Regions from separate parts of the Homo sapiens genome. Here all the other regions are linked to region 1. Evidence: promoter capture Hi-C in human tissues and cell types (Jung and others, 2019). All regions are on one chromosome and are shown on one strand. The core of a region is centred on a gene start or on the middle of the fragment in contact, and the rest is flanking DNA. Distances in the headings are between cores, read along the strand shown.

Evidence for each region. Contacts are between HindIII fragments. The study calls those that stand out against the background at their distance.
Region 2: a contact is called between a fragment that was not itself captured here and the fragment with the promoter of SDK1 in region 1, in 1 of the 25 tissues and cell types used here (dorsolateral prefrontal cortex).
Region 3: a contact is called between a fragment that was not itself captured here and the fragment with the promoter of SDK1 in region 1, in 1 of the 25 tissues and cell types used here (dorsolateral prefrontal cortex).
Region 4: a contact is called between a fragment that was not itself captured here and the fragment with the promoter of SDK1 in region 1, in 1 of the 25 tissues and cell types used here (dorsolateral prefrontal cortex).
Region 5: a fragment that was not itself captured here is called in contact with the fragment with the promoter of SDK1 in region 1 in 1 of the 25 tissues and cell types used here (dorsolateral prefrontal cortex).
Region 6: a contact is called between the fragment with the promoter of AP5Z1 here and the fragment with the promoter of SDK1 in region 1, in 1 of the 25 tissues and cell types used here (dorsolateral prefrontal cortex).
Region 7: a contact is called between a fragment that was not itself captured here and the fragment with the promoter of SDK1 in region 1, in 1 of the 25 tissues and cell types used here (dorsolateral prefrontal cortex).

Annotation. Positions count from the first base shown.
Region 1 is chr7:3,298,891-3,302,601 of GRCh38, reverse strand. It overlaps SDK1 (sidekick cell adhesion molecule 1), which reads right to left and starts at 1,350. Exons shown (of 45, transcript NM_152744.4): 1 at 718-1,350. The coding sequence starts at 1,015. It overlaps SDK1-AS1 (SDK1 antisense RNA 1), which reads left to right. Exons shown (of 3, transcript XR_001744897.3): 1 at 1-373. RefSeq lists enhancers at 549-1,049, 1,759-2,270, 2,271-2,783 and a silencer at 1,324-1,873. The HindIII fragment of the contact is 11,292 bases long and covers 1-3,711 here.
Region 2 is chr7:4,462,731-4,466,599 of GRCh38, reverse strand. All of the region lies in intron 1 of LOC124901579 (a long non-coding RNA gene), which reads right to left. Among named protein-coding and RNA genes, the nearest start is that of FOXK1, 220 kb to the left of the region's middle. The HindIII fragment of the contact is 4,829 bases long and covers 1-3,869 here.
Region 3 is chr7:4,612,476-4,616,617 of GRCh38, reverse strand. No RefSeq gene overlaps it. Among named protein-coding and RNA genes, the nearest start is that of FOXK1, 68 kb to the left of the region's middle. The HindIII fragment of the contact is 7,496 bases long and covers 1-4,142 here.
Region 4 is chr7:4,725,773-4,729,600 of GRCh38, reverse strand. The region is part of intron 1 of FOXK1 (forkhead box K1); the gene reads right to left. It overlaps LOC124901581 (a long non-coding RNA gene), which reads right to left. Exons shown (of 2, transcript XR_007060199.1): 1 at 2,738-3,828; 2 at 1-1,944. Among named protein-coding and RNA genes, the nearest start is that of FOXK1, 45 kb to the right of the region's middle. The HindIII fragment of the contact is 6,895 bases long and covers 1-3,828 here.
Region 5 is chr7:4,973,711-4,977,809 of GRCh38, reverse strand. It overlaps the pseudogene RNF216P1. Among named protein-coding and RNA genes, the nearest start is that of MMD2, 17 kb to the right of the region's middle. RefSeq lists a silencer at 3,207-3,586 and an enhancer at 3,299-3,897. The HindIII fragment of the contact is 5,809 bases long and covers 1-4,099 here.
Region 6 is chr7:4,772,803-4,776,888 of GRCh38, reverse strand. It overlaps AP5Z1 (adaptor related protein complex 5 subunit zeta 1), which reads right to left and starts at 1,266. Exons shown (of 17, transcript NM_014855.3): 1 at 1,133-1,266. The coding sequence starts at 1,173. RefSeq lists enhancers at 588-697, 718-777, 1,118-1,187, 1,618-1,707, 1,748-1,797 and 2 more and a silencer at 1,308-1,437. The HindIII fragment of the contact is 20,755 bases long and covers 1-4,086 here.
Region 7 is chr7:4,744,244-4,748,238 of GRCh38, reverse strand. All of the region lies in intron 2 of FOXK1 (forkhead box K1), which reads right to left. Among named protein-coding and RNA genes, the nearest start is that of AP5Z1, 29 kb to the left of the region's middle. RefSeq lists silencers at 2,787-2,836, 2,947-3,046 and an enhancer at 3,737-3,786. The HindIII fragment of the contact is 5,421 bases long and covers 35-3,995 here.

The DNA.
Region 1 (3,711 bases), core at 101-2,600:
CCAGATTTGGGAAGGAAAGCTCGTTTCACAAGAGATCCCATCTCTCGTTTCAAAAGGTCATTTCCATTCAGCAGATCCTCTTTCCCTATTTCAGAGCTCACCACTGTATTCTAAACAGAAGCCAATAGAGGGAGAAAAACAAAGCCAAGTGCAAAAGCTGTGGGCACTGAAAGTTTTGCTCCACCGGCCGCGCAGCACCCACTTGGGGTCGGGCTTTGGGACTTGGGGGAGTCAGGAGCAGGCGGGGGCTGGGGAGAGGACGAGGCCCTGGGGAGGGGCTGGAAAAGGCTTTTCACAGCGACTGGCACTTGATATTTCCAAGTCTTCTGGATGTCACTCACCGGAAACCAGACCCTGCGGTGCGAAGACTCAGGTACAGACCAGCCCCTTTTTCATCCATGCAATGGGAAGGGGACTCGGGCATCCTTTTAAGGAGCTGAGAAATGGGTCCTCAACTTAAAAATTTTTGTTTGTGCTACTGCGGTATAAAAAAAATAAAACGCAAAGTAGCAGACGGGGTGCAGGCTCTACGGGGCTCCGTTTCCCTCTCCTCCGAGTCTGGCGTGGAGGAGCCCCTGGGCTCCCTAGAGCCCCCAGCAAGGCGCATCCCGACCCGGGCCGGGAAGCGGGGGGACCCCGGACACACTCTCGCTGCTCAAGTTCGCGCCTCCGCGCCCCGAGGCGACGCCCCCGGCCCGCGACCCCGCGCGCACCTACCTTGCGCCAGCGCCCGGAGCAAGTGCAGCTGCAGCGCCAGCAGCGCCCACCAGCCGCGGCGGCCCGGCCCCAACTTTGCCGCCCGCCGCCCGCCGCACCGCCCCGCGCCCGCCGTGTCCCCGCCGGAGGTCTCGGGCGCCGCCCGGGGTCGCGAGGGCTCCGGGCCGGGGCGCGGCGCCAGCGAGGGGCGGGCGCGGCCGGGCGGGGATCCCCGCGGCCGCCCGGGGCCCGCGCGCTCAGGGGGCTCCGCGCCGCCGCCGCCGCCACCGGCCGCCGAGGGCCGGGCGCCCCGGGCCATGCCGAGCAGCCGCCACCCCGAGCGCCGCGCCGGACGGACGGGCGGGCAGGACAGGCGGGACGGCTCCGAGCGGGCGCGGCCACTCCGCGGGAGGCGCGGCGCCCCCCGGCCCGAGGTGAGCGGCCGCCCAGCGCTGAGGGGCGGCGTCCTGGGTCCCCGCGTGAGGGGCGCGGCGCGGGCCGGGGACGAGCCGGGCGAGAAGAAGTTGTCAACGGGGGAAATTCGCGTCCGGCGCTCACGCAGTCCCGAGCCCGCCGCGCTAGCTCCGAGGGGTCCGCCGGGCGCGGAGGAGCCGCCGCCGCCGCCGCCCCCGCCCGGCGCTGAGAAGAAAGTGCGCCCGCCCGCACGTCGCGGTCGCGCTCGCCCTCAGCTGCCGCGGCCGCCGCTCCCCATTCACAGCCCGGCCGCACGCGCCGCCCGCGCCCGCCGCCCGCCGCCCGCCGTTGATTGGCCGAGGGAGGCGGCGCCCGCTCCCAGGGCCCGCCCCCCAGGCCCTCGCTTGTTTTCAAAGTCGCGGCGCCCGCCCGCCTGCAATTTTGTGCCGGCCGCGGCGCCTGGCTCGGGCGGCTTCCCGCGCCGGCTGCGCCCCCTAGGGACCCGTAGTGGGGACTGCAGGCGGCGTCGATTCGGCACGCGCTCCCGTGGCGGGCTCGCGGGCGGGGGTGGTGCATCCTCGCCCGGCCCCGCAGCGGTGCGGGCGCCCGAGTGGGAAGGGCTCAGGTGCAGCAGGACGCGCAGATCGTGCGGCAGCCCAGGGCCGAGGGCGGAATAGGGCGCGCCCCGAGAGGCGCCCGGCTACCACCAGCTAGCTCAGTGCTTGGGGGTGACGCGCCAAGTTACCGTAATTGCAAACACGCGCAATCGGGTTTTTAATTTCTAGCAACCAAAGGCACCACTGGGTGCAAACTCGCCTCCTGTTCAGAGGAGTGGATATGGCATTGTAGAAGCGTCCAAGGTCACTTTTGGCCGGCGCTGGAGGAGGGCGGGGTAGGGAGGGACACATTGCAGGTTTCCCACCGTGGAGTGGGCGAGTCTTGGGGCAGGGTCGGCCAGTGGGAGGGTCTCCCAGGGCGGGACCCGGGAGCCTGTGGGGCTGGGGGTGGGGACGGGCGCCGACGCTCAGCATGTGGTAAGCATTAGCAGAGTTTATGGGGTGAACTAAGCGCACTGGAGGCTGAAAGGCCAGCATTTTTGTGGGAGGAGAGCTGGAGGTGACACGCACTGCCTCTGGAGTTGGCCCGGGAGGAGCCTGGGGACGTGTGATGATGGTCGCATGAGATCATGTAAGAGATGAACGCAGAGGGGCTGGGTGTGAGCCCAGCACGGGGCTGACTCCCCAGGAATCACCTGATGCAGTAGGTTTATTGTCCCAGCCAAGAAAGACCCCGGGCGAGTGGAGAGCAGGTCACAGGGCTGGGGTCTGGGATAGGAGCCAGCTCCTGCTCACAGAGCGCCTATGGTATTTGTCAAATAACTGATTGGTGGCTCAATATTAGCCTCTGTACACGTCCCCTAAGACTTAACAATGACCACGTGAACAAAACAGGGAAACTGAGGTCCAAGTACAGCCGCCGAACAGGAGGTGGTTTCAGAAAGAGGCCTCCCATCTGCCCCCTTTCCACACCATGCTAGGAGGGGCAAAAAAGTTAAAGGAGCCACGGAGTGCCCTGTTCTGAGGATATAGTGAGGGCGCATAGATGGGACGAGCCGGAAGAGGACAGCTCCCCAAGGACATGGGGATGAGACTGGAGGCAGAGAGGCATGTCTGTTTTTATCTTCTGTTGGTAGCAAGGCTGGGTTTCTTCAAACTTGCAAGATTATAATGAGAACCTGCTGGGCGGGGGGAAGCAATACCTCCTGTGCAGTGAGCACTCACTGTAGGCCAGCCCAGGGCAGCAGCAGCAGCAGCTTCACTACCTGCTGTGTGAGAGGTGCTGGCCCTGGTACAGATGGAGAAACTGAGGCATAAAGAAGTGGGCCGGGCGCGGTAGCTCACACCTGTAATCCCAGCACTTTGGGAGGCCGAGGCGGGCGGATCACTTGAGGTCAGTTCAAGACCAGCCTGGCCAACATGGTGAAACCTCGTCTGCAGTTAAAAAAAAAAAAAAGAAAAGAAAAAAGAAAGAAGAAAATGAAGAAGAAAGACAGAAGAAGAAGATGATTAGCCAGGCGTAGTGGCGTGCGCTTGTAGTCCAAGCTACTCGGGAGGCTGAGGCAGGAGAATTGCTTGAACCTGGGAGGTGGAGGTTGCAGTGAGCCGATACCTTGCTACTGCACTCCAGCCTGGGCGACTGAGTGAGACTCTGTCTCAATAAATAAATAAATAAATAAATAAATAAATAAATAAATAAATAAATAAAGGAAGTGAAGTGTTTTGCCCAAGGTCGGGAGCTCACCTCCCTTCCTCTTCACCCCAACCACCTCTGCTTTGCTGGGAGATAGAGGCTGGTGATCCAAGAGTGGAGTCATGGGGCTTTGAGGTCTCACTCAGCTCCGCCCTTTGTAGTTGTGAAATTTGGGCAAATCGCTGACTCCAAGTTCCTGTAAAAAGTTAGGAATAATTCCCATCTCCAGGGTAGTAGACAGAGTGAGATAATTCACACTCAGTAAATGCTGGTTTTCCTTTCCCTCTACTAACGTGGCAATCCTTGTCCCAAACTACCCTTGCTCTCCCCGCCATTTGAGTTTGCTGCACA
Region 2 (3,869 bases), core at 547-3,046, 1.2 Mb before region 1:
GCTTGAGGACCCCCCTCCCTCCAACCATCCTATTTTCTTTTCTTTTTCTTTTTCTTTCTTTTCTTTTTCTTTTTTTTTCTTTTTTTTTTTTTTTTTTAGCTGGAGTCTCACTCAGTTGCCCAGGCGGGAGTGCAGTGGCGTAATCTCGACTCACTGCAACCTCCGCCTCCCAGACTCAAGTGATTCTCCTGGCTCAGCCTCCTGAATAGCTGGAATTACAGGTGTGCATCACTACACGTGCATATATATATTTTTTTTTTGTATTTTAATAGAGATGGGGTTTCCCCATGTTGGCCAAGTTGGTCTTGAACTCCTGACTTCAAGTGATCCACCTGCCTCGGCCTCCCAAAGTGCTGGGATTACAGGCGTGAACCATTGCACCCGGCCCAACCATCCTATTTTCAAGCCTCCCTCTTTTTTGGTACTCATCTCTAGGTCTCACCATGGACTGCCTTGTGTTAGTGATGAGACTGCTCTGTGTTCCTCTCATCTCAGCCATGTTCAAGCCCCTGAGAGCTACGGATGCCCGTTCTCATTCAGAACACAATAGACACGAAAATTGCCAATGAGCTTCTAGATTTGGAGAGAAAAAGCTAAAAGCCTCTGTTAGTTGCTAACCCTGCAGAAGTCCTCTTTAACCCACAACTTGCCTCCTTTCAACATTCCTAATAGGGTACCCATTTATCCGCATACCTCACCACTGTCCCCCACAAAACACAGCCTCATTTACAACTCTATAAAGGAAAATTTCATACGCTTTCCCTAGAGATTTAAAGCAAGGAGTCATTAGCGTAAATGCTGTTCCCACTCAGCAATTTGAAGGAAATCTAAATGCTCTTCCTCAGATGGTGCCAATTACAACAGCCGGTGGAGGTGACCTCCTGCCTGCCCCACGCTGTGGCGGCAATCACCGTGTATCTTCTCAAATCGAGGCAAAGTGGACTCTATTCTTCCCTCAGCTTGTAAGCACTCTCCTTGTGTGCCTGGCACAATTCTCTCTGTGCCTCTGCCCTGTGCTCTTTTCCGTTCTGGCTACAAGATGACTAAGAGAGATGAAAACTATGCAAGCATACAGCCAATCTCTGCTTGTGTCATTTATGCTGGACATCCTTTTGGCCAAAGCCAATACCCAACATCAGCACAGCAGGAAAGTAGATTCTGCCTCTGTAAGACTACACAGCAAGCATGCATGCTAGACAAACAAGAATTCAATCTACCAGACCCTGCACCCACCTCTGCTGGGGAAGAGTTTTTCCTCTCCGAAGAATCTTCAAAGGAAAAAAGAACTGGGCCAACAAAACATCACATCAGCCTTTATTTGCTCAAAAGGAATGTGTAGGCTGGGCGTGGTGGCTCACACCTACAATCCCAGCACTTTGGGAGGCTGAGGCAGTTGGATCACCTGAGGTCAGGAGTTCAAGACCAGCCTGGCCAACATGGTGAAACCCATCTCTACTAAAAATACAAAAAAAATTAGCTGAGCATGGTGGTGGGTGTCTGTAATCCCAGACTCGGGAGGCAGGAGAATTGCTTGAACCCAGGAGGCGGAGGTTGCAGTGAGCCGAGATTGCACCACTGCACTCCAGCCTGGGTGACAGAGCGAGACTCCATCTGAAACAAAAAACAAACAAACAAACAAAAAACAAAAAAAGAAAGAAAAAAAGGAAGGTGCAGTTTACCACTTCAGGCCAGACTGGCTTTTCCCTTGGGCAGCATAGATGATTATGTAGAAGTGTCTTGGAGGGCTGTCTTGTCTGAAATCCTACAGTTCATTTCCTGGGGTTCAGTAATGTTCCCACATGATACTCTTTCTAATAATACAAATTTCATTTCCTTTCATTCCATTCACAATACCTCCGTGTGAAGAAGCCAGGGACTGCATGAAGACACTGAATGGCTCAGTAGGAGAAGTGGTGAATGAGATTTGCTGAAATGCAGGGTGTGGTAAATTGAATTCTTGTTTGTCTAACATGCATGCTTGCTGTGTAGTCTTACGGAGGCAGAATCTATTTTCCTGCTGTACTGATGTGGGGCATTGGCTTTGGCCAAAAGGATGTGAGCACAGATGACACAAGCAGAGATTTGCTGTATGCTTGCACAGTTGGACAGGCACTCTTGCCCTTCCGTTATTTACATGAGAAGAGCTTCCCCTGAATAGCTTCTGGCCCTTGAACATGGACCCCATAATGAGTACACATGGTGCAGACTGAGATCCAAATCATAGAGGTGGAAGGGGTGGGGCCGACCAGACTCGTAGCTTGAAGAAGCAAAGACTCCCAGATGAGCCCAGTTTAGTTCAAAAAACACATGCTATTTTTCTTTACCACCGAATTCTTTTTGATCTGTTTGTTACACAGCAATAGCTGACTGACACAGAGGTCAAAGATGCTGGTGAGAAAGTTGAGATTGCCAAATAAGACTTTATTACCTTCTCAAAGTTGCCTAGACAATCTCTGCTCCCATATCAGAAATCACAGATCCATGCACGGCTTTACCAAAAACCTGATTCATTTTTGTCTCCTTCATGATGATTTGCAGGATAATGATGTCATTAAGAAGCTTTTAAAACTTTCACATTAGCCAAAGGATGGGATCAGAAGAAACACTTTGGCAGGATTTCAAAACCGAAGGGGAGTTGTGAGAGGTGGGTTCATTTATAATAAAAACAAATGACTTGAAGGTTTTAGTTTTCAATTATTAACATTCTAGTGCCAAAGGCCCAGCCATGCAATTTAGTTCTTAGCTATTTTTGCTAATATCTCCTCAATGCTTGACGTCTAAATACCCAGTCAATCAACAGCCATTACAGAGTTATTACACGCAGTGTTGCGTATGGAGCTGGGGAGAGAATATAAGAAGAAAAAATGCTCCCTATTCTTTGAGAATTTATAACTTAGAGTAAACACAAGCCATACATAGATCAATTATTCATTTAAATGTTGAAAGAATTTTATCAATGGACTTTTAATAACTTTTAATTTTTATACATTATTATAATGTGTGTTTCTTTCAAGTAACTTACAAAATATACAAAAGCACAAAGAAAAAATGGATTGCCAATAATCCTAACATTCAGACAGGCACTGTTAACACTGTGATGAATAATTTTCAAACATTTTTTAAGGTAAGCATATTTTTGTACACACGTTTCTTTTTAAAAGCAATGTTGTTTTTGGCAATGGCTATCTTCCATGTTAATAATTATTGATCTGTAGCATAATTTTAATGGCTGTAAAGTATTCCCCTGCATAGGTATGCCATTATTTGTTTCATCAATCTCCTACCAATAGTCATCTAGGTTATTTTCTGAGTTTTCTCTATTATAAAAAGCAATGCTGTTAACATCCTCATACATTCATCTGCATCCAATGGTCCCCTTCTGGTCTTAGGACAAGCTCCTATGAGTGAAATTTTTAGGTTAAGTGTGTGGTATTTCTAGAAAGCATTTGATCCATGTGGGTAAACTGACTTCCAAAGTTTCCGTTTTAAATGTCTTCTCTAAAAAAAAATTATTTTGAGTAGATAGTCATGTCTCAATTGAAACATGTCATGAGGTCGGGCATTGTGGCTCATGCCTGTAATCCCAGCACTGTGGGAGGCCAAGGAGGGTGGATCACCTGAGGTCAGGAGTTTGAGACCAGCCTGGCCAATGTGGAGAAACCCTGTCTCTACTAAAAATACAAAAATTAGCTGAGCGTGGTGGCGGGTGCTTGTAGTCCCAGCTACTTGGGAGGCTGAGGCAGGAGAATCGCTTGAACCCAGGAGGCAGAGGTTGCAGTGAGCCGAGAGCGCACCACTGCCCTCCAGCCTGGGTGACAGAGTGAGGCTCTGTCTCAAAACAGAGAAAAAAAAAAAAAAAGAAACATGTC
Region 3 (4,142 bases), core at 1,581-4,080, 1.3 Mb before region 1:
ACATTTTCTGCCAGTGTGTAGCTTGTCTTTTCATCCTCTTAAACAGGGTCTTTTTTTTTTGAAAATCAAGATGCGATTTACATACCATAAATTCACCCTTTTAAAGTGTACAATTCAGTAGTTTTTAGTATATTTACAAAATTGTGCTGTCACTGCTGTTTAATTCCAGGACATTTTTTCTTATTCTAAAAATAACGCCACGCCCATGAGCAATCACTTCCCATTCTTCCCTTCCCTCCAGCCCCTATAATCTACTTTTTGTCTCTATGGATTTGCCTGTTCAGCCTATTTCCCATAAGTGGAATTGTACAATAGTGGCCTTTTGTGTCTGGCATCATTCATTTAGCATGACGTTTTCGAGTTTGATCTGTGCCGTAGCATGTATCAGAATTTCATTCCCTTTTATGACTGAACAACCTTCCATTGTATGGAATACCACCACTTATTTGTCTATCCATTGGTATCAGTTGGACTGTGTTTCCCACCAAAGCAAACTTTGCAGTCCTAGCCCCCAGAATCTGTGATTGGGACCTTATTTGCAAATGGAGTTGTTGCAGTTGTCATTGGTTAAGATGAAGTCCCCCTAGAGGGAGGTGAACCTTTAATCCATCATGACTGATGTCCATACAAGATGTACAGAGAAAAGACAAGAGGCCATGTGATAAGAGAGGCAGAGGTTGGAGTCATGCAGCCACGCGCCAAGGCCAGGAAGGTCCTCTCCTACAGGGTCAGGGTGAGCAGGGCCCTGCCAACACCTTGGTTTCAGGCGTCTAGCCTCTGGAACTGTGAAGCAATGCATCTCTATTGTTTTTTTTTTTTTTTGAGACAAAGTCTCATTCTGTTGCCCAGGCTGGAGTGCAGTGGTGTGATTATAGCTTACTGCAGCCTCCACCTCCTGGGCTCAAGCGGTCCTCCATCTCAGCCACCTGACTAGTTGCCACCACAGGCATGTGCCACCATGCCCAGCTAATTACAATTTTTTTTTTTTCTGTAGAGACAGGGTCTTGTTATGCTGCCTAGGCTGCTCTCGAACTCCTGGCCTCAAGCGATCCTCCTGGTGGAGCCCTCAACCAAGTGTTGGGGTGACAGGTGTGAGCCACCGTGCCCAGTTGCATTTAGTAATAATAATATTATTACTTTTATTATTTTTGAGACAGAGTCTCGCTCTGTCACCCAGGCTGCAGTGCAGTGGCCCAATTTCAGCTCACTGCAACCTCCGCCTCCCAGATTCAAGCGATTCTCCTGCTTCAGCCTCCCAAGTAGCTGGGACTACAAGTGAGTGCCACCACATCTGGCTAATTTTTGTATTTTCAGTAGACATGGGGTCTCACCATACTGGCCAGGCTGGTCTTAAACTTCTGACCTCAAATGATCCACCCACCTAGGCCTCCCAAAGTGCTGGGATTACAGTTGTGAGCCACCATACCTGGCCTAATATTATTGGACAATTCTCACTCTAGTCCTGAGAGGTTGGCGTTCTTGTGTCCATTGCACAGATGGGACATTTGGAGGGCAGAGAGGGCCAGTGGCCTATCCCAGGGCGCGTGGTTAGTGAGTGGCAGAGCTCCCAGGTCTTTGAGCTCCCAGACCTTCCCAGGTCTTTGAGCTCCCAGAGCTTCCACCTGCTCTACTGCATAGCAGACTTGATTCCAGGAGAAGAAAATCTATCTTCCGCTTCAAACTAAGGGAAGACCACTGGAACTTAGATTAGTTTATTTAAAATCAAGGTTCAGGCTGGCGCAGTGGCTCACGCCTGTAATTCCAACACTTTGGGAGGCCGAGGCGAGTGGATCACCTGAGGTCAGGAGTTCGAGACCATCCTGGCCAACACAGTGAAACGTAGTCTCTACTAAAATGCAAAAATTAGCCGGGTGTGGTGGCAGGCACCTGTAGTCCCAGCCACTCAGAAGCCCGAGGCAGGAGAATCACTTGAACCTGGGAGGTGGAGGTTATAGTGAGACAAGATCATGCCACTATACTCCAGCCTGGGTGACAGAGTGAGACTCTGTCTCAAAAATAAAAAATTAAAATAAAACAAAATCAAGGTTCAGAAACACATGGGTTAAGAAGGTTTTTCTGGTTGGGTGTAGTGGCTCATGTCTGTAATGCCAGAACTTCAGGAAGCCGAGGCGGGTGAATAACGTGAGTCCAGGAGTTTGAGACCCGCCTGGGCAACATGGTGAAACCTGGTCTCTACAAAAAAAAAAAAAAAAAAAAAAAAAAAAAAAAAATTAGCCAGGCGTGGTGGTGCATGCCTGTGGTCCCAGCTACTGGGGCTGGGGGGCTGAGGTGGGAGGATCACTTGAGCCCAGGAGGTCAAGGCTGCAGTGAGCTATGATTGCACCACTGCACTCCAGCCTGGGCCACAAAGCCAGACCCTGTCTCAAAAAAATAAAAAAGAAGGCTATTCTGGGAACAGGCTTGTCTGCTGGTGGGTGCCGTCCTGATGTTGGCCATCCTAGACAGTGCATCTCGAGTTCCAAGCTACGGATGTGGGCATGAGCCCTGGAGTGTGGCCTGTGTCTGTCTGTGAACTGAAATAAAACATTGCAACCCGAGTCATAGCCAATCCTGGAAATGATGATGACTGCTTGCAAACACGTTGCAAGCCTCTTGCTTGTGCTTGCAGAAACTTGATACACAGGCCTGTGTGCGGGAGGCGGGAGGCCCGGGCCATTTGGGTCTCCCGTTTCTGAATCTGAAAAATGCTAGAATCCATTTTCCCCTCGGTTTTAGGTCAGGTTCCCCAGAAGCAAACTCTGTGGTAAGGAATTGTGTGCAAGCCACGTAGGAATGCCGTGGTCCCGGGAGGTCTGGAAGGGAGTAGGAGGAGGGGACCCAGGAGCCAAGCCAGAGTAAGGTCCTTTGGCAAAATCCCCCTGGGGTGGCTTTGGCCCAATCCTGCAGGAAGGCACTGCAGCGTAAGTTATGCCCCAGGGTCTGTCCAGACTCAGGCAAAGGGAGCGGGGCTTTCACTTTCTGGAATCTGCTCGCCATTGGCTAAGAGCTGGCTGGGGGGACAGGAACCCCAGGCACCTCTCAATTTCTGCTTGCATAGGCAGAACAGCTCCACAGGGGCCGAGTGTGAGAGACAAAGCACCCGGGAGCAAGGGGAGGAGGAAAAGAGTCGTGAGATCTGCAGGGAGCTCAGATGGTCTCTGCACAGTCATTCTCACCGGCACTTGTGGACATCGAGTCTACGATAACTTCATAGTCTCTCCTGCCTGTGCTCAGGACTCCTCGATGTCTCCATTTCTGAACTGGTGGGGGGTTGGAGGGCTGCTCTTCCTGCTGGAATCATAAATCAACATTGTCAGGTGCCAACGTGATGATAAATTGTTGGATGATATGCTGATAACGCATAGCGTTTTCATTTCCTCGGAAAAACAAGGCCAAAGACACTTTCGAATTGCAAATGCCAGCCCCGTTACAGGGGCGGCTGCAAGGAAGGATTTCTGGTCAGCAGATATGGGAAGTCGGCCCGAGAACACAGGCAAAGGAAGTGGGTTTCCTCTGCAGGAATGCAAAGTCACCAACTCCAGGCAGTCCTGGAATGAACCTTACACCTAGAGGCGGCGATGCTTGAATGCGGTGGTTTTCTCTCCCTGCCCTCTTCCTTCTTTCTGTCTAACACACACATATGTAATTGTCTTTTGAGATGTGTATTGGAGTATAGCATGTAGACAGAAAAACGTGCAAAGCAGGACTGTGAAAGGATGAAAGTGAACTCACCCACGTGCCTACCGCTCAGGTCAAGAAACAGAACCTCCCTAGCCCCTTAGAACAGCAGTCCCTAAGCTTTTTGGAACCAGGGACCAGTTTCGTGGAAGATAATTTCTCCGTGGGCCCGGGTCGGGGAGATGGTTTTGAGATGATTCAAGCAGATTACATTTATTGTGCATTATATTTCTATTATTATTACATTATAACATAGAATGAAATAATTCTACAACTTTCATAATGTAGAATCAGTGGGAACCCTGAGCCTGTTTTCCTGCAACTAGAGGGTCCTGTCTGGGGGCGATGAGAGACAGTGGCAGATCATCAGGCATTAGATTCTCATAAGGAGCAAACAACCTAGATCCCTCGCATGCGCGGTTCACAATAGGGTTTGCGCAGTTGATCTGACAGGAGACGGAGCT
Region 4 (3,828 bases), core at 731-3,230, 1.4 Mb before region 1:
AGCACAGCCATGGCCACCGACCCTCCCTGGGGCTCAGGTGTGTGTCCTGCCGGGTGGGGCTCCCGGGGCCCGGCAGTCCTGAGCACCCCATGGCAGCACAGGCGAGGACGGCACCCTCGGTGTTCACAGCTCCTTCAAAATCCCCCCACCTTCCCTTCGCGGAAGGAACGCTCATCTGGTAGGTGACTGCTTCCCAATCCCAACATGGGGACCCGTGGTGACTCCCACAGCTTTACTCTGCGGAGGCTAAGGGACCCCCAGATGACTGACACGGCCAAACGGCGGTGGCCCCAGCGATCTGCATTTCTAGCAGACGTTCCACTCCCCAGACAACCCTGCCTGGCCCAGGAGAAAGCCACTGCCTGCTGCTCCCGAAGAGGATCCTGAGGATCGGAGAGTAGGCTCCGAAATCACCTCCGCTCCCCACCATGCTGTGTGGCTTAAACAGACGTAAAAAGACCGCGTAAAGATGGACTAGGCTCTTTAAGACAGCGGACACAGACACAGTGTTCTGCAACCCTCTGGGGCTGACCCGGGCAGAGCTTGCTTGCGACGAGCAATTCAGGTTAACTTTCATCTTCTGTCTCTACGCTGATTTAAGAAAATGCTTCTGGGAAGTCAAAATGGCTTAATCTGCAGATCTCAAAATGCTGTCCACAGTAATTCCACGTAGTCATTATTCACTGGCCACCTGACTGATACCAAGTACCAGACGCTGGTTTATCTGCATAGACTTTGCGTCCTCTAAGACTGTTCCCCAGGGTCCCCTTCTCTATCTAGGCAGCCTTCCTTGAATTCCCTGGCTCACTCTCATGCCCGACTTAAGAAAAATACGTTTTCTTTTCTTTCTTTTTTTTTTTTTTTTTTTTTCAAAAAGAGACGTGGTCTCACTATGTTGCCCAGGCTGGCCTCAAATTCCTGGCCTCAAGTGATCCTCCTGCCACAGCCTCCCAAAGTGCCAGAAGTATAGGCTTGCACCACCACGCCTAGCTGGTAGCAGGTTCCTGGAGGAGGAGTCCCATCTGCTGCTGGTCTGTTCTCCCCACAGCACGTGGCTCCCACAGGGCAGAGGGTCAGTACACACACAGCACGTGCACTTTAGTGCACACGAGTAAGAGTTCATAACCATGCAGTTCTCTCAGGAATGTGGAGTCTCCCAGGAGGTGAATGCATAGAAACAAGTTTACATGTGAAGTGGAATGAGCTTAATGCTCAACAGCAGCACAGCCGCAGCCGGACAACCCCGAGGACTGAGGGTTAAAATCTGGGTGCTCTTTGGAAATTCCAAAAACCACAGAGAAATGATTAGACTTTTCTGATCCTGGATTAACCTTGAAAGGACAGCAACAATACCGCCTTTGCTGTGTTAGGATCGATGATCCAAAGAATCAGAGAACGTTTGGCAGGCAAGAAAGAGTCGTGTCACATCTCCACTGGAGGCGGGGGGCTGCCAACAGAACTGCTCCAAACAGAAGCTTGTGAGCCGGTCCCGGCTGCCATCCAGGGCCAGGGCAGTCCCCTGGTTGCTGTCCCGGGGGCCCAGCTGCCTGAGGTCAGTGCCACTAAACATGGCTGGGGAAGGGCCCCTGGAAATGTCTGTGCAGTGATTGGTATCTGTCTATACCAATGCCAGTCCAATCGGCAAACACACGCCACCGACTGTCTCCATTTTACCGGCCGCTTTTCCTCCCCTCCCGAAGGACGGGTGTCCAAGCACCAATGTGAAGACCACGGACAGTCCCAGGAGAGGTTCAGGCATGGCCACAGGAGAGGTTCTCTGGCAAACAAGTTATAATCTCGTTTACTCTGGTAAAGTGTTTCCTCCGTGCGCGGGTTCCCACCCAGGAGAGAGCACTCTGATGTGACATCGAGGAGTGACGGGAAGGTGGGACAGGGCCCAGTCTGCCGCAGGGACGGACAGCAGGCCGCCCTCAGCACTGAAGCCTAAAAGGAGAAACACCGCACTTTAGAACAACCTGCAAAATCAGGCCGGGCGCCGTGGCTAAGCCTGTAATCCCAGTACTTTGGGAGGCCAAGGCAGGAGGATCACCTGAGGTCAGGAGTTCAAGACCAGCCTGGCCAACATGGTGAAACGGGTCTCTACTAAATATATAAAAACTAGCTGGGCGTGGTGCTGCATGCCTGTAATCCCAGCTACTCCAGAGGCTGAGGCACAAGAATCACTTGAACCCGGGAGGCGAAGGTTGCAATGAGCTGAGATCACACCATCACACTCCAGGCTGGGTAACAGAGTAAGACGCCCTTGCCAAAAAAATAAACAAATAAAATTTAAAAATAAAGTAAAAGAATAACCTGCAAACCTTAACATGAAATTCTATAATAATAATAGGCTGGGAGCAGTGGCTCACGCCTGTAATCCCAACACTTTGAGAGGCCAAAGTGGGAGGATCACTTGAGGCCAGGAGTGCAAAACCAGCCTGGGCAACAGAGTGAGACCCCGTCTCTACAAAAAATAAAAATAAAAAAATTAGCCTGGCATAGTGGTGCATGCCTGTAGTCCCAGCTACTCCAGGAGACTGAGGCAGGAGGATCACTTGAGCCCAGGAATTCAAGGCTGCAATGGGTTATGATTGTGCCACTGCACTCCAACCTGGGTGACAGAGCAAGACCCCGTTTGTAAAAAAAAAAAATTAAAATTAGTAGTTGACAACTAATATCTGCTATTATTATATATACCAGGTACTGTGTGCTAAGCACATTAAGTAAATTAACTCACCAAAATATCCCACTTCTCTGAACACTCTGGTGATGTATGAATACACAGAGTTTGAGGGAAAGCGCCTGTGTTGTCATTTCCCCCTATGAATAGAGTGGGCGAAAAGAGAAGTCTTGAGGGCAAAGCAGCTGCCGCCCTGCAGAGGGGAGAAGAAACAAGAGCGACATGGCAGGAGTGAGCTCCCGCTGTCTGTCTTCTGGACTCAGGCACCTCCAAGGCCCAGGCACGGTTTTTTTTTTTTTGAGACGGAGTCTCGCTCTGTCGTCCAGGCTGGAGTGCAATGTCACAATCTTGGCTCACTGCAACCTCCACCTCTCGGGTTCAAGCGATTCTCCTGCCTCAGCCTCCTGAGTAGCTGAGACTACAGGCACGTGCCACTGTGCCCGGCTAACTTTTTTGTATTTTTAGTAGAGACAGGGTTTCATCATGTTGGTCAGGCTGGTCTCGAACTCCTGACTTCAAATGATCTGCCAGGCCCAGTTTTGCTAAAGCTGATGGAGGAAACGCTTTCAGAAGCAGAGGGCAGAATCCAGGAGGGGCCTGCCAGGAAGGTGATCGCCGTCCTGCCGCGGCCAGCTCCAACAGACGGTCTGCAGCACAGGTCTCGTGCTTCCTAAGTAAAAGCATTCGTAGGCCAAAAACAAGAACGTTCTAGTGAAACACACGGAAGCCTCCTGTCCCTCACTGCATAGACATTCCTATCCAAATTCAAAGTTATTTATTTTAAGACTTTCCCTTTAGATACCATCCTTGAAGACAGCGGCAAAGCTCAAGAGAGCCCCCAAATGCAAACCCCAATCACACCCCAACAGAGAGCAAAAGGTCTTCGCTGCTTAAAAAAAAAAAAAGTTCTGTTTGTTGAAAGAAAACAGGGACAGTGTCTAAATGGCTTGACAAATCACTTCCTTGCTTCAGCCACTGCAGCCGAGCTCAGCTCACCTTCCTAATATGGGGAATCCCACCAGGCCCAAACCCACACCCCTGCCAGCCAGAAGCCCCAGCCCACGCCCAGCACATGTGCCCCTGGCTCCCTACCCCTCTGAGTGCAGGCACCTTGCCTGGATCCCAGCCTGTTGCCCTGAAGAACTGAA
Region 5 (4,099 bases), core at 1,285-3,784, 1.7 Mb before region 1:
AAATTTACCACCAGGCTGGGCATGGTGGCCCATGGCTGTAATCCCAGCACTTTGGGAGGCCAAGGCGAGCAGATCACGAGGTCAGGGGTTCAAGACCAGCCTGACCAACATGGTGAAACCCTGTCTCTACTAAAAATACAGAAATTAGCCAGGCGTGATGGAGTACGCCTGTAATGTCAGCTACTCAGGAGACTGAGGCAGGAGAACTGCTTGAACCCGGGAGGTGGAGATTGCTGTGAGCCAAGATCACACCACCGCACTCCAGCCTGGGCAACAAAACAAGACTCCGTCTCCAAAAAAACAAAAAAAAATTTACAACTATTTCACCTCTGCAGATCAGAAGGAGGGGAAAGAGTATATTTTTCATTTTATATTCTTCAGGAGAACTTATTTTTTAAAACAGCATATTTATCATAACAAATTTTTTTTAAATAGAGACAAGGTCTCAATCTGTCTCCCACGCTTGAGTGCAGTAGCCTAACATAGCTCACTGCAGCCTTGAATTCCTGGATTCAGGCAATCCTCTTGCCTCAGCCTCCCAAAGTGCGAGGATTAAAGGTGTGAGCCATTTGTCTGGCCCATATTTATCCCTTTTGTAATGAAAATTAACAAATGTGGCCAGGCGGGTGGCTCATGCCAGCACTTTGGGAGGCCGAGGCAGGCGGATCACCTGAGGTCAGGAGATCAAGACCAGCCTGACCAACATGGAGAAAACCCATCTCTACTAAAAATACAACATTAGCAGGGCATAGTGGCACATGCCTATAATCCCAGCTGCTCGGGAGGCTGAGGCAGGAGAATCGCTTGAACCCGGGACGTGGAGGGTGCAGTGAGCCGAGATTACGCCATTGCACTCCAGCCTGGGCAATGAGCGAAATTCCGTCTCAAAAAAAGAAAGAAAAAAAACCAAAACTGCAGAACAAAAAAATACATGTTCCAAAATTCCCCTCAAGGCTAAGCCAGAATCTTCTGGCAAAAAAGAAATTAGGCATCATGGGAGGACAAGACTGGTTCAGCATCACCTGTAGTATTTCAGATCATAAATGCCTAGTGGAGCACTCCTTTATAATCACCACGCCTTCAAAAACTGATGCTGACACTGTCTCTTAAGACTCAATGACTACATATTAACAGCGTCTTGCCAGTAAATTAACAGCTTATTAATCCAGTTGCAATGAATGAGTCTTACACTTCATTCATGCCAGCAATATCATTATCTGATATAATTCTAGTCTAACTAGTCTTTTTATGTCAAAAATGAAATGTCCCTGGATTCTAAATGGTACAAAATAGGTTCATTTCAAAAGATACAGCTGTGATACTAAAAGGAAAAAGCCACAGGGAAAGGGATGAAGTGAGAACAAACAACTTACCTTGTCCCCGATGGCAGTGAAAGTTGTTCAAGTGAATTACCTCTTCATTGTTGTTTCCCTCTTCCATTTTCAAATGCAGACATGCACATACGGGACTGCTAATATCTAAACATGGTGACCATCTGTTTCAAAAGAGCTGAAAAGGAAGCAAAGAGGAACAGTAAGAATGAGGGAGTATCAAAACTCTTGCCATGTATCTGGTCAGGGGGACATCTGAAGCTTATGCTGAAAACATTCCTTAAGAAAACATATCCAAGGAGGTGGGTCAAAAAAAAAAAAACCACACAAACTCAAAACCTATGACATTAAAACATATGTTTAAAATACACATATTAAAGAGACAAAGTACTGACAGAGAAATGACATCTTGATACAAATATGCTAACAAAGAAATGGGCTAAGGGTATTAATAGGCAATTCACAAAAAAGAAAACACAGAAGATGCTCAACCTCACTAATAATCAGGGAAAGGCAAATCAGAAAATGAATTATGTTTCAGCCAGACGCAGTGGCTCAAGCCTACAATCCCAGCACTTTGGGAGGCCGAGGCGGGCAGGTCACAAGGTCAGGAGTTGGACACCAGCCTGACCAACACGGTGAAACCCCAGCTCTACTAAAAAATACAAAAATTAGCCAGGCATGGTGGCACGCGCCTGTAATCCCAGCCACTCCGGACACTGCCGCAGGAGAATCGCTTGAACCCGGGAGGCTGAAGTTGCAGTGAGCCAAGATCGCCGCACTGCACTCCAGCCTGGGCAACAGAGTGAGACTCCGTCACAAAAAAAAAAAAAAAAGGAATTATGTTTCAAACCACTGGGGTGGCAAAAAAGGCAAGTATGTAAGAAATGGGAAATCTTATACATTGCTGGTTTGGATAGTAACTTGGAAAAGATATTCTGAATAGCAATCAGCAATACGCCCTAAATTACAAATGTACATTCCCTGTGACTTAGCAATTCCACTTCCAGGTATATTAGCTAAAGAAACCTCTGTGTGTTCTCCAAGAAATATGCATAATAGAATATACGGACAGGGATGGTGGTCATTACAGCAAATATGCAATAAAAGCAATTGGAAATGGCCTTACTGGACTTCAATAAAGGAATAAATAAAATTCATATGATACAACACAGTTAAATTAACGTTAAATGAAAGTGTGATACCATTTATGTAAATTCATACACAAATTTTAAATACATATTTAAATATTAAATTAAAAAATACAGCCAGGCGCGGTGGCTCACACCTGTAATCCCAGCTCTTAGGGAGGCCGAGGTGGATGGATCACGAGGTCAGGAGATCGAGACCATCCTGGTTAACACGGTGAAACCCCGTCTCTACTAAAAAATACAAAAAATTAGCCGGGCGTGGTGGCGGGCGCCTGTAGTCCCAGCAACTCGGGAGGCTGAGGCAGGAGAAGGGTGTGAACCCGGGAGGCAGAGCTGGCAGTGAGCCGGGATCGCGCCACTGCACTCCAGCCTGGGCGACAGAGCGAGACTCCGTCTCAAAAAAAGGAAAAAAAAAAAAATAATAACGTTCTCTTTGCACTATCAAAGTACCTAGGACAACTGCTACCCAGGCCCTTAAGGATTCACAGAGCCCTGGCGGATTTGTCAGAAATTTCTGTAACCCGCACGCCGCGCACGCTCCACGTTGGCTGCAAGTGGCCCAAGTCTTAGAGCCCTGGTCCCGTTCCACCGGGAGCAGAACCACCTCGACGCGGGGACAGCGGCCTCGCTCCCTGCCCAGCGCCCGGACCCCCGAGCCGGGCCAGCCCCCAGCGCCCCGCAGAAAGGTCTGACGCACTTGCGGCGCCCTCGCGAGTGCCGGGTGACAGTCGCCAAGTTTCACGGAACAACACGCGCTCCAGATGTGAGGGGAGAGGAGGAAAAACGCCGCCCGCCTGGGCTGGGGTTCACAGGCACGGGCCGCCTCCCGCCGCTCCTCCAGGCCGCGCTCGGGTGCACGGACACCGCCTCCGCGGCGGCCTCGGGCCCGAGGGAGGGAAGCGGCCCGAGGGGCCGGCTCGCGAAACTTCGCGAAGTGGCGGGAGGGTGTCGCTCCCGCCTCGCCACCGCAGGGGGCTTGGAGACGCCCAGCCCAGCTCCCCGGCCCGATCCCGCCCGGGCCTCGGCCGCGCCCCTCAGCTCTGTGGTGCTCACGGCCCGCGCCCCCGCCCCCACCCCCGCAGCTCAACGGAGGCGTCACGCAGGGAGGCCGCCTCGCCTCACAGACCCGCCCAGAAGCTCGAGCGCGCCCCGCAGCCGACACTCACTCGCCACTCAACTCGCCGGCTAGCCAGGCGGGTTCGGCGACCTTCGCTACCACGCCGCTTACTCCTCCAAAGCTGCAGCTACGAGCTCCGTGGCAGCCGCTGCATTCCTTCCGGCCCTGCCCCGGCGTCACCTCGCGCAAGCGTACAGCGCGCGTACAGCGCCCCCTCCCGACTAACGACAGGAAGAACCATAGAGGCACTCCGGGTGCTGCGGAGGAGGGACCGGGGGGCTCACCATAGAGAGGGCAGCCTAGCCGCGCCTGCATCCGGGCTCTCCGCCTACGGAGACTTGACTCCCCCACGAGGCTGGAGGATGAAAGGAACGGAGACCCCCAATCCCCGACCCCACAGGAGCCACCATCTCCCCAGAGCTGAAAAGGGTATGGGGCAGGTGGTTGTGGATGTTTACTCGATATCTACTTATTTGCCCTAATTCCTTTGGCAAGTCATT
Region 6 (4,086 bases), core at 17-2,516, 1.5 Mb before region 1:
AGTCCAGTGGTGCGATCTTGGCTCACTGCACCCTCGGCCTCCTGGGTTCATGCACTTCTCCTGCTTCGGCCTCTCACCTCACCAAGTTTGTTTACGTTTACCAAGGGGCTGTAGTGCTGGCTGTATTTTCTTTACTTTTTTTCTTTTTTCTTTTGAGACGGAGTTTCGCTCTGTCCCCCAGCCTGGAGTGCAGTGGCGCCATCTCAGCTCACTGTAACCTCCACCTCACAGGTTCAAGCAATCCTCCTGCCTCAGCCTCCCGAGTAGCTGGGATTACAGTCACCCACCACCACGCCCGGCTAATTTTTTTTTTTTTTTTTTTTTTTGTATTTTCAGTAGAGACGTGGTTTCCTCATGTTGGGCACGCTGGTCTCGAACTCCTGACCTCAGGTGATCCGCCTGCCTTGGCCTCCCAAAGTGGTGGGATTACAGGCGTGAGCCACCACGCCCGGTCAGCATTTTCTTCTTTTAAACATGTAGTATGAAGTCTTTGCCTGTTTGGTGGACCGTGAGTCTGTTCAGTCCTGGCTTACACTGTTTTCCCCCATGACTGGTTAGTTGGTGAGGAAGGAGCTACTCACTCGTTACTGGGAGTCCAGACACAGCCTGAAACCAGCCTGGAGGGTGATTTCTCAGCCTAGCTAATACATCCGCGCAAGAGAGATCTTTTTAAGTCACAAAACCCTCCCACGGTTCCGCAAAGCCCTCGGATGGCCTCCAGCTCCCCAGCCTGGCACACAGCCTTATTCCTTAGCAGGCCTCCGGACACTGTGACTTTGCGTTCTTGACTGTGAGGCACTGAAATCTCCCGGCTGCCCGATTTCCTGCCAGACGCGGAGTTCTCACCGCCAAGCCTTTGACTAAACTGTCGACTGGGTCCCACCCCACTTGCTTTCACTCACCAAGACTCTGCTCAAGTGTCACCTCCTCCGGGGACCCACCATGACCCTCCCCGACCTCCTCACCCCAAGCCTGGCCGCCGTGTTGCCTTACCCGATCCCCAAGTCTCGAGGGCGAGTCCAGTCGGGTTCCTGCAAGGCTGGCGCCCAAGCCCCTGCCCTGTGAGACCCACCCCCGTGTGCCCCTAGGGAGAGATGCAGGAAGGAGGGCCGGGGCCGCAGCTCCCCCGTACCTGGCCTGGTGGAGCAAACTCTCCGCTCCTGCCGAGAACATCACGCCGCCGCCACCAGACGCGCACGAACCTCGGAAACTCCAGGAGCTGCAGCCCAGGAGCTCCGCACCCCGGTCAACTTCCGGGACCGCGTCACGTGAGCGCAGCGGCCTTACGTGGCTGCGTCACGTGCCGCATCACATGAGCAGGAGGGACAGGTTGCCGACCAATGGGCTTTGGCGTGGAGCGACTGGGGCGGGGCGTAGGTGCCGCGGCCGGGGGTCCGGGTCGGCGCCTGGGAGCTGCGGAATCGCGCGACCCCGGAACCTCGGCACTCTGGAGCCCCGGCGCCCTTCGACCCCGGAAAGCATTTCGGCGGAAATTGGGCGCCTGGGGCTTTGGGAGAGGGCATTGCTGGCCCCAAAGTGTCACTGCCCCAGTTCTGGTTTCTGTTTCGTAAACAGCTTTGTCGTGCGGGAGTCCCTTTGCTAAGTACGACCTGAAAATCTGATGCAAACTCCGACACTTGTGGGCTGAGCCCAGCAGTGTCCAGCAGTTTGCAAGGAATAGCCGCGGCTCTGGGCAGTTTTGGGGATTTTTTGAGCTCCCATTTATTGAGCACCCATCCCGCGCTGTTCCTGCTGCTTGAAACGAAAAAATCCCTTATTCAATCCCCACGGTATTCATGGGATCTCGCGATCTCTGTTTTACAGATGAGGCCACAGGCTCGGAGAGGGGAAGTTTCTGTTCATTCTAACGGATGTGTTGGGTGCCCAAATGTGCTGGGCCCTGGCCATAAGTTTGCCATCCTGCAGACGGCCGAGGGACACAGGGCGACACGCCAGCGTCATGATAAACGCTATGACAGCCTGACCTGGTTGGGGGTCCAACCGGAGGAGGAAGGCTTCGGCGACTGCGGCCTAAGATGAGCCCAGAGGGTGTCCAGACCAAGGGGTGGGGAGGGACGGGCCTAGGGTAGCGATCTGCTTCCTATGGCTTAAATGCACCCCAGGAGGAAACTGATCTCTGGCCGCAGGGGAGATAATGGATTGGGAAGCTCCTGAGGGAGAAAGGAGGCTGGTGCAGTTGTGGTCCAGGTAAGGGAGGTTGCCCCGAAAGTAGGCAGATTCAGTACCATTTAGAGGTAGGATTTGCACCACCTGTGATTGAGGAATTTGCAGGCAGGAGGAAGAAAGTGGAAAAATCAAGGGTAACTTCATGTTTGTGGGGTGTCTGTCTGGGGCAGAAAAGGACGAGGAAATTTGTGCCAAGAGTCATTCATTAAGTGGACAAGCGATGATTGAGTCCTAGCTGCGCTAGGCACTGCTGAAGGTTCTGGGGAATAGGGTAGGGGTGGGAATCAATGTTGCGTAGATAGGGTGGGTCAAGGTTAGGCCTTGAAGGGATAAGCCCCGAGAAGACCCCTGGATGGAAGGAAGGAGGAGGAGGAGGGAGGGCTTCCTGCAGGAGTTCCAAACATGGCTTTGAGATGCCCTAGGGCGCCCAGTGATGTCTGAGGGCACCTGGTGCAGAGAATGAAGAGATGGGAATCGGTGGATGGTGAGCGGTGGATGGGAGTCGGTGGAGTGCGGCGGGTGCCCCTGGAGCCGCAGGTTGAAGACTGGCAAAGGAAAGCTGGTGACAGGTAGTCTATGGAAAGCCTACTGCCAGTGTTTAACGTTTACTAGGGTAAAACGTCCACACCAAAGCGCACAAATCTTAAATGAACTCCACTATTTACATTTCTAGAAATCGGTGGTAAATTTGCAAATGTCTTAAGCCTCGGCTCCATTGGCGACGGTGGGGAGCCGGGGGTTGATTTGTGTTTGATAATTTCTGTGGTGTAAATGTTCCTGCCATGGTTTGAGTTCAAGACCTAGACCATTTCCAGCTCCCCAGAGGTTCCCCGCTGTGGCCCCCTCCCAGTCAACGCCCACTCCCTTCCCCCACAAGTAACTGCTAGTCTCTCTTATCACCAGAGATTAGTTTTGCGTCTTTTTATACTTCATGCAAATGGAATCGTACCGTACTTAGCTTTTCTTGTTCGTCCATGAATATTTGGTCGGTTTCCAGATTTTGACAATAACGAATAGAGCTGCAGTGCACAATTGTATGTCTTCTGGGGTTCTGAGAGATGCACCCCTCTTTGTTGTATAGATACCAGGTTCACAGGGAAGCTAACTTTAACTGAGATTCCAACTGTGTGCCAGGAATCTCAATCTCTCTCTCCCTCTCTCTCTTCACACAGACACGACCTTAAGCAATTTTACCAGGGGTAATATTTGACTTGTTTCTTACAAAATATTTACATTAGTGTAAAATATTATTTTAAGGTCTCACTAGTGAAAAATGGTTGTGCTAATCAAAAGCAAAAAAGGCCAGGCACGGTGGCTCACACCTGTAATCCAAACACTGGGAGGTCGAGGCAGGAGGATCGCTTGAGCCCAGTTCAAGACCAGCCTGGGCAACATGGCAAGACCCTGTCTCTAAACAAGCAAGCAAACAAACAAACACAAAGACAACATCTTAAAAAGGAAAGATGCAATTAATAATTAGCCAACGCAGATCCCTGGAGGAAGCCTACATACGCTTCTCACTCATGTTTGCTATTGGGCTAAAATGTTTTTCTTTTTTTTCTTTTTTTTTTTTTTTGAGACTGAGTCTTGCTGTGTCCCCCAGGCTGGAGTGCAGTGGCGTGATCTCAGCTCACTGCAACGTCCACCTCCTGGGTTCAAGCAGTTCTCCTGCCTCAGCCTCCCAGGTAACTGGGATTACAGGTGCAAGCCACCATGCCTAGTTAATTTTTTGTATTTTTTTTAGTAGAGACGGGGTTTTACCATGTTGTCCAGGCTGGTCTTGAACTGCTGACCTCAAATGATCCACCCGCCTTGGCCTCCCAAAGTGCTGGGATTACAGGCGTGAGCCACCGCGCCCAGCCTGGGCTGACATCTTAAACTAGAACTAATCTGTTAAAG
Region 7 (3,995 bases), core at 1,496-3,995, 1.4 Mb before region 1:
GAAGTGAGAGAGAAGGGCTCAGCTCTGGGGAGCGTTGTGTGGGGGAATTTTCACTTTCTGAAATGTTTGCATTTTGTAAGATGCATATAGATAGATAGATAGTCTCTTCGTAATCTGAAAAAGGAAAAATAAACAAATAGGGAAAGAAAATTTTCAGAGGCGAATTTCTTAGAATGATCTTAAAGAATGTGTTCCTTTAAGATAAATCCGACATTGTAAAATGCTGGGAAGCTATTTTTAAAAATTAACTAGTGGATTGCTCCTGTAGTCACGGCTGAGGTGGGAGGATCGCTTGAGTCCCGGAGGTCGAGGCTGCAGCGAGCCGTGACCGGACCACTGCACTCCGGCCTGGGTGTCAGAACAAGACCCTGCTTCAAAACAAAACAAAAACAACAAAGGCAACAACAACCACAACAAAAACAGGCCCAGGCTTGTAATCTTGGCACTTTGGGAGGTCAAGGTGGGAAGACTGCTTGAGGCCAGGAGTTCAGGACCAGCCTGGGCAAGACACCATCTCAACGAAAATAAAAAATGAGCTGGGTGTGTGTGGTGGTGGGTGCCTGTAGTCCTAGCTACTCAGGAGGCTGCAGTGGGAGGATCGCTTGAGCCCGGGAGGTTGAGGTTGCAGTGAGCTGTGACTGTGCCACTGCACTCCAGCCTGGGCAATAGAGTGAGACCCTGTCCCAAAAAACAAACAAACAAAAACAAAATCAACCCCCCAAACCCAAATTGGAACCAGCATTAAAAATAATAATTTAGAAAATAAAATTAACTTGTTTCTGAAGTGCACTTTGCCCTGGTGAGAATAACCAGCATGGTGGCTTCAACAGGAGCTGCTCTCATGTTAGGCATAGACCTCACAGAGCTGAGTGGGTGCTTGAGCGGAGAGGCGGCCCCGCAGCTAGGCAGGTTCCGGGGTCAGCTCCGTGTCTGCAGGCGCCTCCTGCTTCCCCTGAGGCTCATGGAACCCGGAAAGGGCTGTCCTCGTGCGTAACATGCCCGCACAGAAGCCATGCAACAGGCCTACTCCACACAAGCCGCTTGTCACCCGAGGCTGACCTGAGAAGTCGGGCGCTAGGACCCTCCGAGATTACAGGAAACGCGGGCGTGGGGATGTCCTTTCAACAGATTCGGACAAACACAAGGACTTCCCTACCAAGCTTCATTCCGAACTCCCAACACTTTAGCGCCAAAGTTGCCCCTCGAAGGGATCTAGGCAGGAGGGAAAAATAAAAGGAAGACAGAAAGTCCCAACCTTCCCATGTGGAGGAAACAATAGTTACTTCCCCAGAGTTCTCAGCTGGGAAAAGACATAAGAGGGTGTGGTGGGGTGGGGAGGGGCAGCAAGGCCTACAGGGACAGGGACAGGCAGACAAGGGAAGAGGGACCCTCACTGGATTTGCAAATGCTGGCACAGCCAGCCCAGATCAGCCAGGCAGGATTCCCGCTAGGGGTGATTCACACATTCGCACCACAATCCTCCTGCAGCCCTGCTGAAAACACACGGAAGGCTGCAGCCACAAACTTGTGTTTTTTAATTATTAATTTTTTGAGACAGGGTCTTGCTCTGTTGCCCAGGTTGGAGTGCAGTGGTGACATCATAGCTCGCCACAGCCTCCAACTGCTGGGCTCAAGCGATCCTCCTGCCTCAGCCTCCCGAGTAGCTGGGTCTAAAGACATGAGCCACTGCACCTGGCTAATTAGCAAAAAAATTTTTTTTTTTAGAGATGGGGGTCTCACTATGCTGCCCAGGCTTGTCTGGAACTCCTGGCCTCAAGCAATCCTCCTGCCTCAGCTTCCCAAAGTGCGTCACCACACCCAGCCAACCAGAAACTTTGAAAGAGATGAATCACCCTGCAGGAAGCTACCAAAGTTGTCAGAAAAAGGAGAGTATTTCTAACGTAGATCCAATAACCTCCAAACTCAAAAGACCTCTAACTTTACAAAACAACATAAACCAAGTTAGGACTGAATGTTATCTAGCAATAAGACAGAACTGTTTAAAAATCATGATTAAAAGGGAAAGATTTTGAAGTCAGTTGCTGCATTTTTACTGTATATTTACATACTGCTGACCTTCGCCGAATTGTACGAGTTACTTTCATTTTTGATCTCCACGTTGGAGAAATCAGGAAGAGCCTTAAGAGAAACAGCTCTTGAAGTCTTGCCCTCATGAGCAAAAACAGTCACTCTGTGCAATGTCCTTTCACTGAATTTCAGCAGTTTTCTTAAAACTCTACCTCTAAGGAACACTTTTTAGACTGGTGTCTGTCTGATGGAACCTAGAAAATGATTAACTACTTGAATTCTTTCATTAAATACTTTAATTCCTTCCTAAAAACACTTTTTTTTTTGAGATGGAGTCTCGCTCTGCCGCCCAGTCTGGAGTGGTGCAATCTTGGTTCACTGCAACCTCTGCCTCCTAGGTTCAAGCAATTCTCCTGCCTCAGCCTCCCAAGTAGCTTGGATTACACACCTGGCTCATTTTTGTATTTTCAGTAGAGATGGGGTTTCACAATGTTGACCAGGCTGGTCTCGAACTCCTGACCTCAGGTGATCCGCCTGCCTCAGCCTCCCAAAGTGCTGGGATTACAGGCCTGAGCCACCGGGCGCCTGGCCTGTAAAAATCCTTCTTTGCAAAAAGGAAAGAAAAGGTCAAACTTCTGCTAAAGATAGCAGAATTTATTTCAAAGAGAGTTCATTCATTTTCTGGGTGGAGTACTTCAGGGCAGAAAAAAATAAATCAGAAACACACACACACACACAAAACCACACACCCACACCCATACCCACCCACCCTGGGAAAAGGAGCGAGGGCCTGCGAGAAACGGAAAGGAAGGACGCAGGGTGGCGCGGGGGGCGGGGGCAGGGGCAGCTGATCAGGGAGGCTCCCCCAGGAAAAAGCCGCTCCCAAGCCACTCCCGACTCCTGGGAATGAGGGGCCCTGGGCGAGCCCGGCCTACACCGAGCCAGCCACTCCACGGCCAATGAGGACTGGCGAGGCGAATGCACACCAAATTAGGAAGGCAGGCACCGCGGGGGCGGGGCGGCACTGGGAGGGGACAGCCTTGCAGGCAGCCAGCTCTTCTGGCCTGGCCCCGCTCCCACCTCCCGATCTGTTAGGGAGCGCAGCCAGAGAGGAGGAGAGTGGGGAGGTGGCAGGGAAGGGCAGGGAGTGTTTGTAAACACGCCGGCTCCACCCTACAGCAGAAACTCAAACTGAAAAGTATCTTGGCAGGGAAAACCTCAAGGGCCTCTGAGGTTTCTAAACACTCAATTGAATTCCAGGGTGCTAAGATAAACGGATGTAAACAGAGAGGCTTTTATTGTAACAATGGAAGGCCAAAAAGCCAGACAGCCAGTCCCTAACTTACTACTTTCTCCGCACAGAATTCTCCCCAACAAGAATCCGGTCTTTGCACAGGGCGGTTTCAAAGAACAGGACTGGGCGGAAGGAGGGGAAAGGGGTGGCCCCCCACCTTCCTGGCTCCCGCAGCAAGAGCAGGGCAGGTGCAGGCCCAGGGAGCTGCTCGCACCCCCTGACGGGGACTCGCAGTCACAGGAGGCCGCCACCCAGCTTCTCAGAACAGCTCCAGCTGCAAGAGCTTCAGGTGCTCAGTACACAATTTCTTTACTCCCAGCTATAAAAAAGAATGAAATCTTGACCTGGGCAGCAACGCGATGGAGCTGGAGGCGCTTATCCCAAGTGAACCAACTCAGAAACAATACCGCACAGCGCCTGCTCTTGCTTACAAGCAGTGGCTGAACAGTGGGTACCCGGGAACAGGAAGATCGAAACAATGAGAAACTGGGACTCCTAAGCAGGGAGGCGGGAGAGGGCGAGGGGTGAAAGATGACCTACGGGGTACGCGGTTCACCCTTTAGGTAACGGGAACCCCAGAAGCGCAATCCCCACCAGTAATATACCCATGTCACAAATATGCACGTGTACCCCCTGAAGCTAAGATAAAATAAAAATAAACAGTATTTTCCCT